Regions from separate parts of the Homo sapiens genome. Here regions 2 and 3 are each linked to region 1. The links are contacts of gene promoters, found by promoter capture Hi-C in blood cells and fetal thymus (Javierre and others, 2016). All regions are on one chromosome and are shown on one strand. The core of a region is centred on a gene start or on the middle of the fragment in contact, and the rest is flanking DNA. Distances in the headings are between cores, read along the strand shown. Region 1 holds the start of PRODH2 (proline dehydrogenase 2). Region 2 overlaps HAUS5-DT (HAUS5 divergent transcript). Region 3 holds the start of PMIS2 (PMIS2 transmembrane protein).

Evidence for each region. The method cuts DNA at HindIII sites, captures the fragments that hold promoters and counts their contacts. A CHiCAGO score of 5 or more calls a contact.
Region 2: a contact is called between a fragment that was not itself captured here and the fragment with the promoter of PRODH2 in region 1, in 3 of 17 cell types (M1 macrophages, M2 macrophages and M0 macrophages). The highest score is 6.4, in M1 macrophages.
Region 3: a fragment that was not itself captured here is called in contact with the fragment with the promoter of PRODH2 in region 1 in 2 of 17 cell types (M2 macrophages and M1 macrophages); the score reaches 5.9 in M2 macrophages.

Annotation. Positions count from the first base shown.
Region 1 is chr19:35,810,922-35,815,107 of GRCh38, reverse strand. It overlaps PRODH2 (proline dehydrogenase 2), which reads left to right and starts at 2,263. Exons shown (of 10, transcript NM_021232.2): 1 at 2,263-2,476; 2 at 2,552-2,748; 3 at 2,836-2,974; 4 at 3,060-3,146. The coding sequence starts at 2,303. The HindIII fragment of the contact is 7,636 bases long and covers 1-4,186 here.
Region 2 is chr19:35,604,694-35,608,848 of GRCh38, reverse strand. It overlaps HAUS5-DT (HAUS5 divergent transcript), which reads left to right. Exons shown (of 2, transcript NR_186318.1): 2 at 46-460. Among named protein-coding and RNA genes, the nearest start is that of HAUS5-DT, 5.9 kb to the left of the region's middle. The HindIII fragment of the contact is 3,634 bases long and covers 92-3,725 here.
Region 3 is chr19:35,584,748-35,589,183 of GRCh38, reverse strand. PMIS2 (PMIS2 transmembrane protein) reads right to left here and starts at 3,011. Exons shown (of 2, transcript NM_001395412.1): 1 at 2,643-3,011; 2 at 1,888-2,208. The coding sequence starts at 2,924. The coding sequence ends at 2,038. The HindIII fragment of the contact is 2,233 bases long and covers 807-3,039 here.

The sequences.
Region 1 (4,186 bases), core at 1,014-3,513:
TGGAGGTGGTGGGTGGGGGGATTGCTTGAGCCCAGAAGTTTGAGGCTGCAGTGAGCAGTGATCACCCCACTGCACTCCAGCCTGGAAGACAGAGCAAGACTCTGTCTCAAAAACAAAACAAAAAAAACCTTACAATGTGAACAACTATGAATCATCATCCATGTTAAGACCTAGGACTCCTAGGACCTAGAAGCCACTGCCAGGCACAGTGGCTCACACCTGTAATCCCAGCACTTTGGGAGGCCAAGGCAGGTGGATCATGAGGTCAGGAGTTCAAGACCAGCCTGGCCAAGATGGTGAAACCGTGACTCTACTAAAAACACAAAAGTTAGCCAGGCGCGGTGGCAGACGCCTGTAATCCTAGCTACTCGGGAGGCTGAGGCAGGATAATTGCTTGAACCCGGGGGCAGAGGCTGTAGTGAGCCGAGATCGTGCCACTGCACTCCAGCCTGGGCAACAGAGTAAGACTCTGTCTCAAAAAAAAAAAAAAAAAAAAAAAAAGACCTAGGACTTCACGCCTGTAATCCCAGCATGTTGGGAGGACAAGTAGGGTGGATCACTTGAGGTCAGGAGCTCAAGACCAGCCTGGCCAACATGGTGAAACCCCATATCTACAAAAATACAAAAATTAGCCAGGTGTGGTGGTGGGTGCCTGTAGTCCCAGCTACTCAGGGGGCTAAAGCAGAAGAATCACTTGAACCCGGGAGATGGGGGTTGCAGTGAGCCGAGATCGCACCACTGCACTCCAGCCTGGGTGACAGAGCAAGGATACGTCTAACAAAACAAAACAAAAAAATTAAGACATATGGTTTCCATTTTAAAAAAAGAAAATAGGATATAGAAGTCCCCATATCCCTCTACCCCATTACAATTCCTCCCATCCCCCACAATCAACCACCTCTCTGACTTCTGTGATAATCATGTCCTTACTTTTCTTGTCCTCATAGTTTGACCACCCACGCATGTATTCCCAACATTTTACTGCAGTTTCACTTTCCTTGCTTTTATATTTATTGAAAAGTATAGACCAGCCACAGTGGCTCATGCCTGTAATCCCAGCACTTTGGAAGGCTGAGGCGGGCAGATCACCTGAGGTCGGGAGTTCAAGACCAGTCTGACCAACATGGAGAAACCCTGTCTCTACTAAAAATACAAAATTAGTGGGGCGTGGTGGCACATGCCTGTAATCCCAGCTACTCTGGAAGCTGAGGCAAGAGAATCGCTTGAACCCGGGGGGTGAAGGTTGCAGTGAGCTGAGATTGTGCCATTGCACTCTAGCCTGGGCAACAAGAGTGAAACTGTGTCTCAAAAAAAAAAAAAAAAAAAAAAAAAAAAGAATAATACAGCTTGCCCTGTTTGGTGTCTGGCTTCTTTCACTTGACATTGTGAGATTCAGCCACACAGTTGTGTGTATCAGTATCCATTCTTTTTCATTACTGTATAGTATTCCATTGCATAACTACACCACCATATATGTATCCATTCTCCTTTTGATGGACATTTGGGTAGTTCAGACACTGCTCCTCTGAACATTCTTTCCTGTACATGTTTCCTGCTGTCCATGTTTAAGGTCTCTAGGATATGTACTTAGCATGGAACAGCTGGGTTATATAGGTTATTTGTCTTTTCTTTTTTCTTTTTTTGGCGACAGAGTCTCACTTTGTCACCCAGGGTGGAGTGCAGTGGCACAATCACAGCTCACTGCACCCTTGACCTCCCAGGCTCAAGAGATCCACCTTCCTCGGCCTCCTGAGTAGCTAGGACCACAGGTGTGTGCCACCACACACAGTTAATTTTTGTATTTTTTGTAGAGATGGGGTCTCACTATGTCGCCCAGGGTAGTCTCAAACTCCTCGGTCTTGGCCTCCCAAAGTGTTGGGATTACAAACGTGAGAACCGTATTTTCAAATGTATTCAATAACACTACAGCGTTTCCAATTTTAAGAGGAAGCAATTGCCACAAAAGTGATTAAGTAGCCTGTCCTGGATCACAAAGCCCGGTGTCCTGAGCCCAGGGATCCTTGCTCCGGAGCCCCTGCTTTCCCCAGCACATGGTGGTTACCTAATAAGTGCAGGCTGTTGTGCTGAGCATTCTTGGGGGCTGTTACTGGGGTTCACCTCCCGTTTCCGTTACTCTGAACTCTGTCCCCATTTGTTAATAATTAATTGCCCCCAAGGAGCCTGTGATCCTGAGGCTTTGCCCAGTTAATCAGTCACTGCCCCTGGTCTGGGCAAGGGGCAGTTGGTGAACTTGCTGCCTCCAGAGAACCTTCCCTGGTGTGGAGGCAGCCAGGGACCCAGGATGCTCCGGACCTGTTACGTGCTCTGTTCCCAAGCTGGTCCCCCCTCCAGGGGCTGGCAGTCCCTGAGCTTTGATGGCGGGGCCTTCCACCTTAAGGGCACAGGAGAGCTGACACGGGCCTTGCTGGTTCTCCGGCTGTGTGCCTGGCCCCCACTCGTCACTCACGGGCTGTTGGTGAGCAGTGATCCTGAGGACCAGCCTGGAGGCTCCTCATAGCCTGGCGCTGAGCCCTCGCTCCCTGTCACCCAGCTCCAGGCCTGGTCTCGGCGACTCCTGGGCTCCCGGCTCTCAGGCGCATTTCTCCGAGCATCCGTCTATGGGCAGTTTGTGGCTGGTGAGACAGCAGAGGAGGTGAAGGGCTGCGTGCAGCAGCTGCGGACCCTCAGCCTCCGACCACTGCTGGCAGTGCCCACTGAGGAGGAGCCGGACTCTGCTGCCAAGAGTGGGTGAGTAGGGAGCCAGGGCCCAGGGAGGCTGGGAGGACGCAGGAAGGGGCTTTGCTGTTCGGGCCCTGACACCTGCTGGCTGGGCAGTGAGGCGTGGTATGAGGGGAACCTCGGTGCTATGCTGCGGTGTGTGGACCTGTCACGGGGCCTCCTGGAGCCCCCCAGCCTGGCTGAGGCCAGCCTCATGCAGCTGAAGGTGACGGCGCTGACCAGTACTCGGCTCTGTGTAAGGAGTGCAAAGACGGGGGTGCGGGGAGGGCGCGGCTGCCCATCGGGCTCCCCTCACCACCCCGCCTACCACCCCATTTCAGAAGGAGCTAGCCTCGTGGGTCAGAAGGCCAGGAGCCTCCTTGGAGCTGAGCCCCGAGAGGCTGGCTGAAGCTATGGACTCTGGGCAGGTAAGGATCTCAAGCGGGACTGTCGGGGACAGAGTGCCTTGGACTTAGATGCGGCCACACCGCACGCCAGATGTTCAAAATGCTACGGCCACCTCCAGGCTTGGAACAGCCAGCAGAAGTGCAGCTGTAGCTCCCAGGCATGGTTGAAATGGATGGAATCAGGGTCATCTGGGTTCTCAGGGAGGAGCCTGGAGGCTGGAGGCTCTCAGAGGAGGGATTGGGATAGAAGCTGTTTATCAATTAGAAGGAGGTACATCAGTGTGTTCTCAGTCAACACAGCTGCATGGGTGTGAGCTGGCTGGGTGTAAGTTCTGATTAGGCCAATGGGGTCTTAGTTTGTTCATTCAATCATTAATTCCTTTTTATCTCCACATTCTCTTTCAACCCTACTCCATCTTTTTTTCTTTCTTTCTCTCTCTCTCCTTCCTTCCTCTTCCTCTTTTGCTCTCTCTCCTTCCTTCCTTCTTTTCTTTTTCCTTCTCTCCCCTCCCTCCCTCCCTCCCTTCCTTCCTTCCTTCCTTTATTCCTTCCTTCCTTCCTTCTCTCTCCTCCCTCCTCTCTCTCTCTCTCTCTCTTTCTCTTTGTCTTACTGTATTGCACAGGGTGGTCTCTAACTCATGGCCTCAAGCAATCCCCCAGCCTCAGCCCCCCAAAGTTCTGGGATTATAGGTGTGAGCCACCACACCCAGCCTGCCGTCTTGTATAATGCATATCTTTTTGTTTCTATGATTTTGTTTTGCCAGGTGTATACCATTCGTGGGGGGCATATTTTCCCCAATATTCTATTATAAAAATTTTCAAATATACAGAAAAGTAAAAAGAATTGTACATGAACATCCATGCCCCCGCCACCTTTAACTATACTCACTTTAAATCATATCTATCCCTCTATTCCTCTATCCATCCATCAATCCATCTTATTTTTTGGTGCATTTCAAAGTAAATTGCAGACATGTTTTCCCCCTAAATGCTTCAGGATATGAATAATGGGCTCATTAATTAGAGCCCAATAATTATTCGCAGTACTTTTTTTCTTTCAA
Region 2 (4,155 bases), core at 659-3,158, 210 kb after region 1:
TTGCTTTATCTGAAATCTCTTTTCTGTTTTTCTGGATAATTTCAGGATGCTTTTTGGAACCCATCCACCATCTGAGAGATAATAAGAAGCTTCTCTAGGACTTGTGATTTTGGTTTCAGCAGCTCCTTCCACGTTTGAGAAGAGTCTTCTCATTTCTTACTCATAGAACATCCCATCAGACATTTCTCCTGATCCACATAGTAATTCAGGGATCCAGGCTTCTTCCATAAGGTGATTCAACCATCTTCTATGGGCTCAGAGTCTTTTGAATCCAGGCAGAAGAGAGAATAAGGAACTCGCACCTGCTTCTTGAAAGTCTTCACCCTAAAGTGACATACATCACTTCTGCTCTCAGTCCATTGAACATAACTTGTCTTATGGCTTCAACTAGCTGCAAGGGCCTCTGGGAAATGTAGTCCTGGTCTAGGCAGTCAATAAACATCCTGCTGGCTCTGCCACAGAAGGCCTTTCTAAGATGTTCTTTGAGCTGAGACGTGAGAGCCAAAGTGTGAGAGCTACTTGAAAACTGTGAAAATGGAGTTCCCAAAGTGGGAACAGCAAGTGGAAAGACCCTGATGCTGGAATGTGCTCAAAGGAACAGTAAGAAATGAGCTTCTGGCTGGGCGTGATGGCTCATGCCTGTAATCCCAGCACTTTGGGAGGCTGAGGCAGGTGGATCACCTGAGGTTAGGAGTTTGAGACTAGCCTGACCAACATGGAGAAACCCCGTCTCTACTAAAAATACAAAAAAATCAGCCGGGTGTGGTGGTGCATGCCTGTAATCTCAGCTACTTGGGAGGCTGGGGCAGGAGAATCGCTTGAACCCAGGGGGCAGAGGTTGTTGTGAGCTGAGATCGTGCCATTGCACTCCAGCCTGGGCAACAAAAGTGAAACTCCGTCTCAAAAAAAAAAAAAAAAAGAACTTTTATTTTGTGAGCTACTGAAATGGTGGGGTTTATTTGTTATAGCAGCTAGCATGACTCTAAATAATATACCTTGTAGACATCATTGCCCACTAGCTCAGTGTATCTCAAACTACTTGTAACTATGGAGAAGGATCATTTGTTTGATGTTTCCAACCTGTCATGGACCAATCCTTTTGGTCTCTACCCTGTTCAACAAGAAAATCCATTGATCCTATACTTGGATGTCATGGATATGTCAAATTGCTGTGTTTCTAAACACTTGCTGGCAATTTCCGTACTTATCTGGTGGCACACCATTGCAGACACCAGCTCGGTTGGGGAGACCCTAACCCACTGGTGCTAGAGGAATTAAACACACACACACAGAAATATAGAGGTGTGAAGTGGGAAATCAGGGGTCTCACAGCCTTCAGAGCTGAGAGCCCCGAACAGAGATTTACCCACATATTTAGTAACAGCAAACCAGTCATTAGCATTGTTTCTATAGATATTAAATTAAAAGTATCCCTTATGGGAAACGAAGGGATGGGCCGAATTAAAGGAATAGGTTGGGCTAGTTAACTGCAGCAGGAACACGTCCTTAAGACACACATCGCTCATGCTATTGTTTGTGGCTTAAGAATGCCTTTAAGTGGTTTTCCACTCTGGGCGGGCCAGGTGTTCCTTGCCCTCATTCCCGTAAACCCACAACCTTCCAGCTTGGGCGTTAGGGCCATTATGAACATGTCACAGTGCTGTGGAGATTTTGTTTGTGGCCAGTCTTGGGGTCAGTTTATGGCCATATTTTGGGGGGCTTGCTCCCAACACCATAATAGTTGCTGGACCAGTCCTGGCACCACTTTAGCTTCTTATTCTGTTTTATTTTTCTCTATAGCATTTACCATTCCCTGTAATTATCTTGTTTATTTTTGGGTATACTTGTTTATAGTTTTCTTTCCCACTAGAATGTAAGCTCCATCAGAGAAGAAGTTGGCCTTACTTCTCTTGCTCCGTTGTGTTCCTCGTTCCCAAGACAATGCCTGGGACACAGTAGGTGCTCAGAAAGTATTTGTTAAATAATGAGTATTTGTTAAATAAAAATCATGGCTGGGAACAGTGGCTCACGCCTATAATCCCAGCACTTTGGGAGGCCAAGGCAGACAGATTGGTTGAGCTCAGGAGTTTGAGACCAGTCTGGGCAGCATGGCAAAACCCTGTCTCTACAAAAAATATAAAAATTTGCTGGGCATGGTGGCATGCACCTGTAGTCCTAGCTACTCAGGAGGCTGAGGCATGAGAATCACTTGAACCTGGGAGCCAGAAGTTGCAGTGAGCTGAGATTGTGCCACTGCATTCCAGTCTGGGTGACATAGTGTGACCCTGTCTCAAAAAAAAATTTAATAAAATGAAATAAAAATAACAAGGAGGGTGGGGGGAAGGAGGCAATCCATATCTGTTACAGAGGCTCTCTACAATCAGAACCTGACCAGAACTCTAACCAGTTTGTTAACAGCCATTGAGATCCCCTCAAGAGCTGTGGTTTTTTGATAGACCATGGTAGCTCAGATTAGATGTCAACTGAAGAATCATGAGGTTTTGATATGGTTTGGCTGTCCCCACCCAAATCTCATCTTGAATTGTAGTTCCCCAAATCCCCATGTGTTGTGGGAGGGACCTAGTGGGAGGTAATCGAATCATGGGGGTGGTTACCCCCATGCTGCTGTTCTTGAGATAGTGAGTTCTCACGAGATCTGATGGTTTTATAAGGGGCTTTTCCCTCTTTGCTTGGCACTTCTCCTTCCTGCTGCCATCTGAGGAAGGACGTTTTTGCTTTCTTTTCCACCATGATTTTAAGTTCCCTGAGGCCTCCCCAACCCTGCGGAACTGTGAGTCAATTAAACCTCTTTCCTTTATAAATTACCCAGTCTTGGGCAGTTCTTTTCAGCAGCGTGAGAACAGACTAATACAGGTTTACAAATTTGGAAAGGAGAGCTTTATTTCTCATAAAGAGTTGCAGCCTGCAGCCGGGCCATCTCACAGGCCGAGAAGTGTAGCCTCCGGTAGAAGCTGAGAGCAGGCACCTCCAGTAAGGGAAGGATAAGGTCAGAGTTAACGCTGAATGGCTTGGCTCAGTATACATATTCAACAGGTTATAGGAGGAGCTATGAATATTCATGAAGGGAAGGTACAGCACATGTGTAGTAACATCCCATATTCACTTTTTTTTTTTTTTTTTTTTTTTTTTGAGATGGAGTCTTACTCTGTCACCCAGGCTGTAGTGTAGTGGTGCGATCTCAGCTCACTGCAACCTCTCTTTCCCAGGGTTCAAGCAATTCTCCTGCCTCAGCCTCATGAGTAGCTGGGATTACAGGCACCCATCACCATGCCTGGCTAATTTTTTTATTTTTAGTAGAGACAGGGTTTCACCATGTTGGCCAGGCTGGTCTCAAACTCCTGACCTCAGGTGATCCGCCCACCTTGGCCTCCCAAAGTGCTGGGATTACAGGCGTGAGCCACCGTGCCAGGCCCCATGTTCACTTTGGAGTGGAGACTTAACACTTAAATGTATTACAATTAGGCCCTATACATCAAAAGGTGATGCAGAGGACACAAAGGCCCTTTGTGTGCAGCCTCTGTAGACTGGCCAGAGCCACACCCCGTGGTTAGGTGGCCTCTGATCAGGAAGGAATGCTGGTCAGTTGTTATGTTGAAACCACAAAAGGGAGGAGCAGCCATGTATTTCAGGCCATTGGTTGAAATTAGCAGTGAATGAGTCTTTCAATAGGGCTGGTTTCTGTTTAACCCTTAGGGAAGAAAGCTTCATGGCAGTCAGCAAGGGAGGAGGTAGAATGAGGTGTGCCCGACCACCCGTTCAGTCACGGCTAGGAACTCAGCTTTTAGTGTTTCTCTGTAGGCCCCTTGGCCAAGACAGTGTTCATTCAGCCAGTTGGCGGACTTAGGATTTTATTTTTGTCACGTGCGTCCGTGTGAAGAGACCATCAAACAGGCTTTGTGTGAGCAGTAAAAGCTTTTTAATCACCTGGGTGCAGGCGGACTGAGTCCGAAAAAGGAGTCAGCAAAGGGAGATAGGAGTGAGGCAGTTTTATAGGATTTGGGTAGGTAGTGGAAAATTACAGTTAAAGGGGGTTGTTCTCTTGCAGGCAGGGGCGGGGGTCACAAGGTGCTCGGTGGGGAGCTCCGGAGACTTATTGTCCAGGAGAAGGAATGTCACAAGGTAATGTCATCAGTT
Region 3 (4,436 bases), core at 674-3,173, 230 kb after region 1:
CATGACAGACAATTAGGCATCATCCTATCTGCAGGCATCCCCATAACCCAGAGCATTGTCCCACAAACACATGAGATCTGCCCAGACACCCAAGCCCACAGAGGAGACAAACTCAGCATCACAACAATTACAATTAAGGTGGACTAGGGCCTTTGTTGTTTCCTTCTATTATTATTTCCTATAGACCACCCAACAAGATGGATGTCTCTGTTGGGTATGAACTTGAAGCTGTAATCCCAGATGTGCAAGAAATAGAACTCTATTCTCCTGCATCTGCACTGGTTTGGGTGGATTGGGCTGTGGAAACAGGCCAAGCATGTCATTTGTCAACATGGTAGTCTATTTTCTGCTTGACCACATGAGGCAGTTGGGGGAAGGGAGGCTGTTCCTAGAATGGTTCAGGGACCCAGGCTAATGGGGGCTTTGCCACGTCTACAACATGTGGCCTTCTAAATCATCACATGGGTATCCCTTGCCCCGTTGGCCGGGGGAGGAGGAGTTTAGAGGAGTGTCCCAGGAGACATTGAAAAGCCAGGTTTGTTTGTGGTACATGTCAGTTCTGCTCACATTCCACAGGACCAAAGCACATTTCATGGCTGCAGAGGGGAACCTCTGAGACGTGGCCAGGCAATGTTCCCAGAACAAAGAGGCGATGGGCTCTGGGGGACAGTGAGCAGTCTCTTGCCCAGCAGCTCCATTGACTTTCTACTGAGAATCCCCATTCTCCATGGTGGTGGAAACTTAGTTCTGCTAAATATTGTGCTAAATATTCATCTGGTTCTGAACTTGGGGTTGTCCATGAAGCTTGGGCATCAGAGGCAGCCCCGGGGTGTCTGTGGCCCATGGTGTCAGTCTAGATCTCTGTTTTGATTCATGCACGATGGCTCCCTGCTTATCCCTAGTTTTCCTCTACAGTTCTGTCTCCACCTGGCACTTGGGATTCCTATGGAACCCACCTTCTTCTCACTAGGCTGGGCCATGGGGTATCCTCCTTGGCTGTCTGAGGTCATTTCTTTGTAAATGTCTACACCATGTAGCATATCTTCTTTGAGAACTTGGAGCCTCTCTAGGCCTTATCTGTGAGGAGGGATTATAGATAACAGCTGGGGTCTCTGACGCCCCTCTTCCTCAGATGCAGATTCCAGGAACCTTATGGATGTACTATTGTCTAATCTCTCTCTACATTCCCTTTTCCATGAATGGGGAACCAATGCCTTTCTGGAGGGGGGAGAGGTGGTCTTCATCAGCTATTCTGCCAAAGCTATTTGCATTTCTTGAGGACTTTCCATTCTTCTCCTAAGAGCTTGACATTTGGATGTCAGAAGCTGGAAGAGGTTTCTGTTTTCTTATTGCTGCTCTGAGACACTAGACATCTCCAATCCCAGCTCAAATGAGAAGACCCCTAGAGAATAAACATCAGTTCAGATTTCTAAATATCATCCCCACATTGGCAATTATGCCTGCTTTAGAGACAAAGGAACTATGCTCAAGAAAAGTATCTGTTCAGGGCTATACAGTTTTTCAGTGTCAGAGGTAAGTTTTTAACTGACATCTGCCTGAATTCTATGTCTGTGGGCTTCCCCATTGGGACATTCTGATTTTCACAGTCTAGGAAACAGCTCCAGGGAAACACAGATACTGACCACTGACCCAGAAAACAATCATGGGCATGTTGACACACACACATACACACACACCACAGGAAACCAGAACATTCCATTCCAGTTTTTTGGTTTAAAATTCCTCTGAAAGAACAGCCCAGTGTCAAGGAGCTAAAGGGATCTAGGGCATGAAGTGTGGACCCCTAGGGTGAACGAAGACAGCTCTGGAGCTGAGTGAGTTGAAGTAGCACAGGCAGGTGGTCTGTGTGTTCCTGGGTTGGTGGGTTTCTTGAATGTTGAGTTCCTTGGTTAGAGGATTTCTTGGCTAGATGTCTCAGCGGTTGAATTTCTTGCCTGATGGCTGACTTGGCTGGTTAGTGTTTGGTGAGTGGCTCGGTTGGGGAGCGGACCCCTGGGTTGCTATGCCTAGACTTCATTAATATAGGACCAAGCCATAAATGATGCCTAAGCCAATCATTACCACGAATGCACCGAACCAACCAGTTCGGCCTGAGTTGATGTAAGCCTCTTCCCATTCACTGTTCTGGTTGGCCTTCATAGTCTGTAGGGGTGGAAGCATAGATGTGGGTTTCTGTGTCCAGGAACCCTGGGGAGAACGGTTGGAGACCTGCAGTCACTGAGGGAAAGCCCCTATGCAGGTCCCAGGATAGGAGCAGATGCAGGGGCCAAATGGAGGACAGGGTAGGCTGGGTGCAGTGGCTCACGCCTGTAATGCCAGCACTTTGGGAGGCCAAGGCGGGTGGATCACAAGGTCAGAAGCTCGAGACCAGCCTGGCCAGCATGGTGAAACCCCGTCTCTACTAAAAATACAAAAATGAGCCGGGCACTGTGGCTCATGTCTGTAATCCCAGCTACTCAGGAGGCTGAGGCAGGAGAATTGCTGGAACCGGGAAGGCAGAGATTGCAGTGAGCCGAGATTGCACCACTGCACTCCAGCCTGGGGGACAGAGTGAGACTGGGTCTCAAAAAGAAAAAAAAAAAAAAAAAAGGACGGGGGCTATGACTTGGGCATTATTTTACCTCATAAGAGAAGTACAAAGCTGCCAATCCAAATGGAGGGAATAAAAGTATAGCAAAGATGGTCAAACATAGGTAGTTTGGGGCGTAAAATGCTAGTTCCTCTGGTGTCTGTGTAGGCTCTTGCGGCTCCTGGGGCACCTCAGCTGGGGCACCTGGACCACCTGTGGTAGTGGGAGAACCTGGGGCAGCTGAAGCACCTGGATCACCTGTGGTAGGGGGGGCGTCTGGGGTAGCTGGCGCGTTGGGAGCAGGCTGGGTGGCAGAAGGTGGTTTCAGGGCCATGACCTTTCCCCTCAAAGACGGACTCCGAGTGTCTTGAAAACGGAGCGCCAGACCCACTAGGCTTCCCCTTGTACTAACCAGACTCCCAGGACCCAAACCATCAAAGGCTGAAGCTTCGCAATGGAGAAACCAGCACCCCACGTCCTGATTGGCTGCCTAGTTAGGGGGCGTGGCCCCGCCGTTCTCGCCCACCCCAAGACACAGAGAGTGCAGCCAATCAGGAAGTGGGCTCCGCCCACCCTGGTAGGGATTGGTTGGAAGCCTAAGTGGTGGCTCTCGGCTCCTCCTCCTCCCACTGATCTCTCTCTGCAGCCTGCGCGGATGGGCGATGTCAGGAGGGTCTCCCAGGAGTTGTGGAAGAGAGAAACTAGACACGCCCAGTAAGAGTAAGAGATTTACTGAGGGGAGGAAAATGAGTAGTGTCAGAAGTGGATTGTAAAGTCTTGAATTAAAAATGAATTCCGGCTGGGCGCAGTGGCTCATGCCTGTAATCCCAACACTTTGGGAGGCCAAAGCGGGCGGATTACCTGCGATCAGGAGTTCGAGACTAGCCTGACCAACGTGGTGAAACCCCGTCTCTACTAAAAATACAAAAATTAACCGGGTGTGGTGGCAGGCGCCCGTAATCCCAGCTACTAGGGAGGATGAGGCAGGAGAATCGTTTGAACCCGGGAGGCGGAGGTTGCAGTGATTCGAGATCACACTGCACACTCCAGCCTGGGTGACAGAGTGAGACTCCATCTCAAGAAAAAATGACAAAAAAAAAAAAAAAAAAGAATTCCTTGGTTTATGCTGACAGAAAGAAAAAAGGAAAGAATAGAGAAAGAAGGGGAAAAGGGGGAAGATCTTTCTTAAAGTAGAACACAACCTAATGGAACGATGGAACAGGAAATCCCCAATGTGGTAGGCAGAACTCTGAGATGACCCGAAGATTCCTGCTCCCTGGTGTACACACTCCTTCTCCAGTCACTCAGTCAAGTACTAGTCTGTATGCTGCTGGGAAGGCGTCTTGCAGACGTAGGTAGGGTCTGAAATCAGTTAACTTTAAGTTAGGAAGAATATCCTCTGGGGGCCTCACCTAATGAGGTGAGTTCTTGAAAAGGACTGAGTCTTCCTGGCAAAAGAGGTTTCAGGTGTGAGAGGATTGGAGGCAAGCAAAGGTCTCCATTGCTGGCATGAAGATGTCACCAGGGCCACGTAGGGAGGAATCCAGGCAGCCTCTGGCTGAGAATGGCTCCCAGCTGACAGCCAGCAAGGAAACGGGGTCCTTAGTACTGCAACAGCAAGGATGTGAATCCTGCTGTAATCACATTCATTTGGAAGAGGATCCTGAGCTCCACATGAGAACCCAGCCCAGCTGACACCTTAATTTTAGCTTTGGTAGATTCTGAGCAGAGAAGCAGCCATTCTGACCTACAGAACTGTGAGTTAATACCTGTGGGGAATTTGTTATGCACCATTAGAGAACATTTTCAAATACCATAGTAATTGCTGATTCAGGTAGGAGCTTTT